Linked DNA regions of Homo sapiens: region 2 is linked to region 1. The links are contacts of gene promoters, found by promoter capture Hi-C in blood cells and fetal thymus (Javierre and others, 2016). All regions are on one chromosome and are shown on one strand. Each heading gives the region's core, a stretch centred on a gene start or on the middle of the fragment in contact. The rest is flanking DNA. Distances are from core to core; before and after follow the strand shown.

Region 1 (3,409 bases), core at 622-3,121:
TCCTGTGCTATGAAAAAGAAGAAAGGCCTGCCTTAGGCTGGGGTCAAGGAAGATTTTCCTGAGGAACAGTCAAAAAGAAGGAGTAGGAAAAAGCCAGGACAGGACCAATCGGGAGAGGCTGCAGGCAGGGGAGGGCCTCCAGTGGAAAAGAGCTGTGTGAATCTGAGAAACAACAAGTTGGAGGTGTGGATCGGGGAGGCGTGAGGAGGAAGCGGCCACAGGTACAGGGACCAATTCGCACAATAGGAAAAGGTGAGAAATGAAGAGGGCCTTCAGTGGAGATCCACAGCCTCTCTCCAAGTCAACACACTCAGTCAGTCCTGGCAGCTCAGCCCAGAAAACTTTGTCAGCCATGGCTGGGGTAACTGTGTCCAGAGGTGTTTGAACAAGAGCCACTCCATCTTGAATAGGGACTGAGTAAAATAAGGCTGAAACCTACTGGGCTGCCTTCCCAGGTGGTTCAGCATTCTTAGTCACAGGATGAGATAGAAGGTTGGCACAAGGTACAGGTCACAAAGACTTTGCTGATGAAACAGGACTCAGTAAAGAAGCCAGCCAAGACCCACCAAAATCAAGATGGTCATGAAAGTGACCTCTGGTCGTCCTCATTACTCATTAAATGCTAATTTTAATGCATTAGCCTGATAAAAGACCCTCCCACCAGGGCCATGACAGTTTACAAGTGCCATGGCAACGTCAGAAAGTTACCCTATATGGTCTAAAAAGTGAAGGAACCCTCAGTTCCGGGAATTGCCCACCCTTTTCCTGGAAAATTCATGAATAATCCACCCCTTGTTTAGCATAGAATCAAGAAATAACTACCAGTATAATTAGCTAAGCAGCCCACACAGCTGCTCTGCCAGTGGAGTAGCCATTCTTTTTTGTTGTTGTTCTTCTTGTTTTTTGTTTTTTTTTTGTTTTTTTTTTTTTTGAGACAGAGTCTGGCTCTGTCGCCCAAGCTGGAGTGCAGTGGCGCAATCTCGGCTCACTGCAACCTCTGCCTCCGGAGTTCAAGCGATTCTCCTGCCTCAGCCTCCCGAGTAGCTGGGATTACAGGCATAGAGCACCATGCCTGGCTAACTTTTCGTATTTTTAGTAGAGAGAGTGTTTCACCATGTTGGCCAGGCTGGTCTGAACTCCTGAGCTCAAGTGATCTGCCTGCCTTTGCCTCCCAAAGTGTTGGGATTATGGGCGTGAGCCACCGCACCCGGCCTGTTTTCTATACTTCCTTAATAAACTTGCTCTCACTCTACGGACTCACCCCGAATTCTTTCTTGCGAGAAGTCCAAGAACCCTCGCTTGGGGTCTGGATCGGGACCCCTCTCCGGTAACAAGTGATATCGGTATTAAAGGTACCCCCACATGTCAAAGGCTTCCCTCCACAAGTCAGAGTTGGGGAGGGACAGGAGGCAGCAGGGGACCGACAAAGAGCAATGGAAAGAGAAGGCCTGGGAGCCAAGCAGGCCTGGGGTTGACTCCAGGCTCCCTTAGTGGCCTGCACAACTCAGATGACCCGTCTGTGAAGTGCAGGTCACAGTGGGCACCACACACGGCTGCAGAAAGGAGTGCAAAGGTGATGCCCACGCCTGGCCTAGGGCGGGGGCGCAATACATGGCTGTTGCGGCTGTGATTGCTGGAGGAAGGGAGTCATTTGGAAGGCACAAAGGAACTAGAACCTACTCGGTGTCGGGACAAGCCTCAAGGATGGGGCAGGGGTTCCGGCAAGAGCTGGGTTCCAGCCTGGGTTGCCACCAACAGCGAAAGTGACTGCCAGGTGGCAGTAGGGTGACTTCACCAGCTTAAGTGCTTAGCGGGCAGGCGAGGGGGCGGAGCAAGAGAAGAAAACACAAAGGGCCGGAAGGAAGCCGGGGAGACAGGTGGGGTACTCGGGAAGCTGGAGCGGGCCGGCGGTGCAGTCACGGGGGAGCGAGGCCTGCTGGGCTTGGCAACGAGGGACTCGGCCTCGGAGGCGACCCAGACCACACAGGTGAGCCCCCGCCCCGGGGAGTGTTGACGGCGGGAGGGGGTGGCCTCGGGGGAACGCGGCGCCGCAGGGCAGTCCTTCGAAGGCCGCGCGGTGCAGCGGTGGCCGCCCCCCACTCTCCCCTAACTCGGACCCCGGCGGCCCCGGCACGGGCGAGGGGCTGGGGAGCTTGGGGTGGCGCTGGCTGCTTCTGGCCAGGGATGGCAGCGGACTCCAGTAGGCTGACTCCCGGCTTCCCCGACCGCATCAGAAAGTGCAGTGTCCCCCGTCCGCCGTCCAGCCCTGCAGGCGCCCCCCTCCAAGCCATCCTAAGAAGCACCCCCGCCCCCCATGCTGGGGCGCGCCCTCCTCCGCACATTCGTCGGTCAGCACCCACGAACCCACGGGTCCCTTCCCCACCACTGAGGAAACAGAGGGTCCCCGGACCACCCCAGCGTGGGGGGTGGGAGCTACACCTGCAAGGCAAGACCCTCGGAAGGCTTGCTTTTAGGTGCAGACTGAGGACTAAGTGGGTGCCAGGGGACCTGGCCACCGAAGCTGAGAGGTATATTTGCCTCCCAATATAGGGCAGCGGCCTAATGGCTAAGCAAAGATAATCTAATTTGGCGTGGTCAGCAAAGACTTCCTGGGAGTGCTCAGGAAATGGAAGGTGTGCAGGGGCTTTATGGACGTATCCCTCATCCTCATCCTCATCCTAGTCTTCATTCCTGCAAGAGCCCCTCACCATTGTTGTGTCCATTATGCCCAATTAACAGTGGAGAAAGCTGAGGCAGAGACGGATTAAGTCATTTGCACCAAAGGGATCGCAGGGGTAAAGAGTCACGATTTGAACTCTGGTCTCTCTGACCCCAGTACTTTCCCGTGCAGGGCACCGTGCTGCCCCTGTAATCACATTAGACACCTGTGATGAAACTTGGTGCGAGTACGGGTCCCCTTGGCTCAAATGCCTCAAAGTTTAGTAACTGATGTAGGAAACAGAATTGTATATAAGAGGTTCATTTTGCAGAAGAAAAGCAGAGGTAGAGGTAGAGTTCAGGGCTGCAGAATGCAGTGGCCACTGGGGGCAGGAGGAGGCTCAAAGTCCACCTGGATTATGTCCATCATTGCCAAATCCAGGGTCCACTTTTCTAAGCCATGTGATGGTGTTGATGATTCACTCCCTCCTTCAGAAATTCCCTCCCCTCTGTATCAGCTATTCCTTCTCAGTCATTTCCTTGGCCTGCTTTTTTTTTTTTAATCTTTCTTCTCTTTTCGATATTCCCTTGGGCTCAGTGTTCATATTCTCCAGTACTGTTTTTAGACACATTTATTAAAGTTCCCTGCTTTAACTCTCATCTCTATGATGGCAGCTCCCAACTTCATCTCTCTAGCCTACCCCTGTTCTGGAACTCTAGACCCAAATCGTCAAATATTAACAGTGGCTAA
Region 2 (3,372 bases), core at 574-3,073, 210 kb after region 1:
CATCATTCGTGTCTCTCACTGCCTAGTGCAGTGCTCGATAGGCAGTCGGACTCTGTTCCTTTATTATACTATACCTGGTGTTAGGTTTTTAGAGCACTTAAATTTTTTTTGTCTTTTTGCTTTACTCTAATAAATATTCTAGTTAACATTAATATCTAGCTTAATATGATTTAAATGTATGTTAAAATTCTTAAGAGTAGTAGCAAATCTAGATTGGGAACTGGATCTGTAGACAATATTCAAAAGATACAATTCAGATGACCCTGAACACCAGTAAACTGATCCAGGGGCCAAATATTCTCTCAAAATAGAGGAGGAAAAAGGAAAAGAGGCATGTAGGGACCCAGAAGAAGAAGGGCGATTTATGTGGAGTGGAGGGAATTTTCATGTTAAACCACAGGTAGGGCTTGTTTACTTTGTCACATTTTCCCTGTAATAGAGAAACTGCTGAGCCAGAATTGTGCAACTGATTGAATTAGCACCTTGTTTAAATTGTTAGCATCCATCTTTGAGAAGCATGTATTTTAGATTAAAGATTTAAAAATCTTGGCTGAAACAAAGGACAATCTCTTTCCTTTATGAAGTTGTTCATTGAACTTTAAATAGTAAGATATTAACAGATGAGGATTGAATTTAGTCTTCAAATAAGCATCTCTGTGATTTGTTGGTCACAGTATGATCTCTTTCCCATCCCCCACTATTTTTTACTTTTGATAGGGCAAACTCTTATGTTTTCATGAAATATTTAAAGCAAATGATGTGTTAATTATGTTTAGTTATCCTTTTTGAGAGTTCTCTAGCTTTTTCTGTTCTGAGGTTCAGAATCAATATAAGGACATATTGAAATCATAATTGCATTTTATCTTCCAAACAGCCATTGAAAATAATTGCATTTTAATTTGAGAATTTTATCTCAACTCCATATAACAGCTTATACTTTAAAATATAATCCAGAGGTACAGTACTTTTCAGTTCATTTATTAGCTTTGTCAGTTTCCACATTTGTAAAGTTGAACATTTACTGAAATTATGGGCTGGTTTGGGTTAAAATGAAGTAACATATGTGAAGCATCTTAGATGGTCACACATAGTAGGCTCTCGGTAATTAGTCGTTGCTGCTGTTGTTATGGGTATTTAATTAACTTGGATTTCTAGGGCACCATTTGTTAGAGTGCAGTGAACCAATTCTGAATTCTACCCTCCTATATTTGTTACTTGTTTAGACTGACTTAACCACTGTGGAGAATAAAGCCTATTTGTGGGGGTTGGGGTGGGGGTGGTGCCTACTGACTCTTATATGCATGTTTTTTCAGAGTTACAGGATGTGTACTGGAATGTGAAGGATTAAGCTTTGTGGTGGCATGTTCTATATGGTCATCCATAGTGACCAAACTAATTTGGAATGTTGTTTTGTTACTAACTTGGAAATGTGTTATTTTCTCTACAGAGGATGTTGATCTGAATAAACTGCTTATTATGCTTTATACATTTCTAGAGCGAGAGGAACTGTCAATCAGTGTAAATCTCACCCAGCACAGTATTTTCTTTCACAAACATGGGGAGGAGGCAATACCAAGATAACCACTTTTGGGACAGAGCCAGGAGCTGTTGTGTAACTCAGAGGGTGTGTGATAGCATCCAGCTTTGGAGCCCATCACGTCACATTGAGAAATTGTGGCAGGGAGGCTTACAGGAAAAACATCTTGTTTATTAACACCTGAATATGTTACTTATGTAGCTTTTTAAAAGTCATCAGTTAGCTAGCTTCTCAAAGAGAGGCAAGAACCCATTCGCGTAGTTACAGATTGTGGCTATAGTAAGTCTTCTGGTAACAGGAGCTGTGAGCACCACTTCTTCAGTGAAGTCTTTCCTGTTCCCTTCTCCACTCAGGTTGATGACTGTCTCCTTTGTACCTGGTTGCAGCTTGAACATATTTAGGTAACTTCTCTCAAAGCACTTGAAACATGCTACTGCCCATGTCTCCTTTCCAGCTTGTCTGTAAACTCCTTGATGGTAGCAGCTGTGTGTGTAAGTGCCACTGAGTATAGATTCCTGGAGCTTAGGTTGATCCCCAGTAAATGTTAAATGCAGGTCTCCCTGTGCCTGTGGAAATGCCTCAACATCAATTGGTTCAATTGTATCCTTCAACTTGATCACTAACAGGTCTTTAATGAAAAGTCTCCAGAGATGCTATTCCCATTCTGTACTATCCTCATCATTACCATTCTTATTTCTTCTTTGCCAATGCAAATTCTCTATTTCATTTTTTTCTTTAAGTACTTCTCTATGAAGCTTTTTAAAAGTATGCTTCATTTTAGGGCCAGACATGGTGGCTCATGCGAGGCCCATGCGGGTGGATCACCTGAGGTCAGGAGTTTAAGACCAGCGTGACCAGCATAGTGAAACCCCATCTCTACTAAAAATACAAAATTAGTCGGGTGTGGTGGCGTGCACCTGTAATCCCAGCTACTCAGGAGACTGAGGCAGGAGAATTGCTTGAACCCAGGAGGCAGAGGTTGCAGTAAGCTGAGACACCGCAGCCTGGGGGACAGAGTGAGACTCCATCCCAAAAAATAAAAATAGAAGTATGCTTCATTTTAGTTAGTTTATAATCAACATTGAGAAATCCAAGAAAGGTGAGAAATGTAAACTAGAGCTGGAGATTTAAAATTGGCACCTGTAAAAATACATTATTTTTTGAAGTAAAAAAAGTTTGTAAACATTTCCCTTGTTTACAAATCTGAAATTATATTAATTTTGGTAAAATTCTAGATTTTTTCCAAATAAGTCAAAACCTCAAAAGAATGGAAATTTTAGGTAAAATTTAGGTAAAAATGGAAAGAAAGTAAGAGTCATAATTTTCAGGCTGTTATAAGAAATGTCTTTTACTGTATCATATGGTATTTTATAGTATATAAAAATATAGGAATTGACCTTATTATCCTTAGTGTACAAGGTTTTATTGTGGTTTAAAATTCCAAGTCTTCGATGTAGCTTCCTTTATTCTTCTTCTTCAGTTACACCATAATAGTTTATTGAAATTTGATGCATATAGGAAAAAACCTTGTAATTGACTTTTTTTGGAGAAAAATTATTCATTTTAAGACAAAAGCAGAGATTGTTTGAGCCAAAACCTGATGGATTTAAGAGTGCTGTTGATCATGGTTGACTTGTGAAAGTGATAGATAGATAGATAGATAGATAGATAGATAGATAGATAGATAGATAGATCTCTTATCGTTATTTTTCTTTTATACTGGGCTTATGTTTTTTTTTTCTTATTTTCTTGCTTAATAATAGTATCATTAAGCAGGCAGGAGAAAAATAATACCATTGAAACTAAAAGTTAGTAATTTAATTTGATTATGTATA

Evidence for each region. Contacts are between HindIII fragments. The CHiCAGO score rates a contact against its expected background, and 5 or more counts as called.
Region 2: a fragment that was not itself captured here is called in contact with the fragment with the promoter of OCIAD2 in region 1 in 1 of 17 cell types (endothelial precursors); the score reaches 6.2 in endothelial precursors.

Annotation. Positions count from the first base shown.
Region 1 is chr4:48,905,236-48,908,644 of GRCh38, reverse strand. It overlaps OCIAD2 (OCIA domain containing 2), which reads left to right and starts at 1,871. Exons shown (of 7, transcript NM_001014446.3): 1 at 1,871-1,987. RefSeq lists an enhancer at 1,564-1,643 and a silencer at 1,934-2,193. The HindIII fragment of the contact is 6,070 bases long and covers 1-3,409 here.
Region 2 is chr4:48,696,705-48,700,076 of GRCh38, reverse strand. The region is part of intron 2 of FRYL (FRY like transcription coactivator); the gene reads left to right. Among named protein-coding and RNA genes, the nearest start is that of FRYL, 82 kb to the left of the region's middle. The HindIII fragment of the contact is 943 bases long and covers 1,352-2,294 here.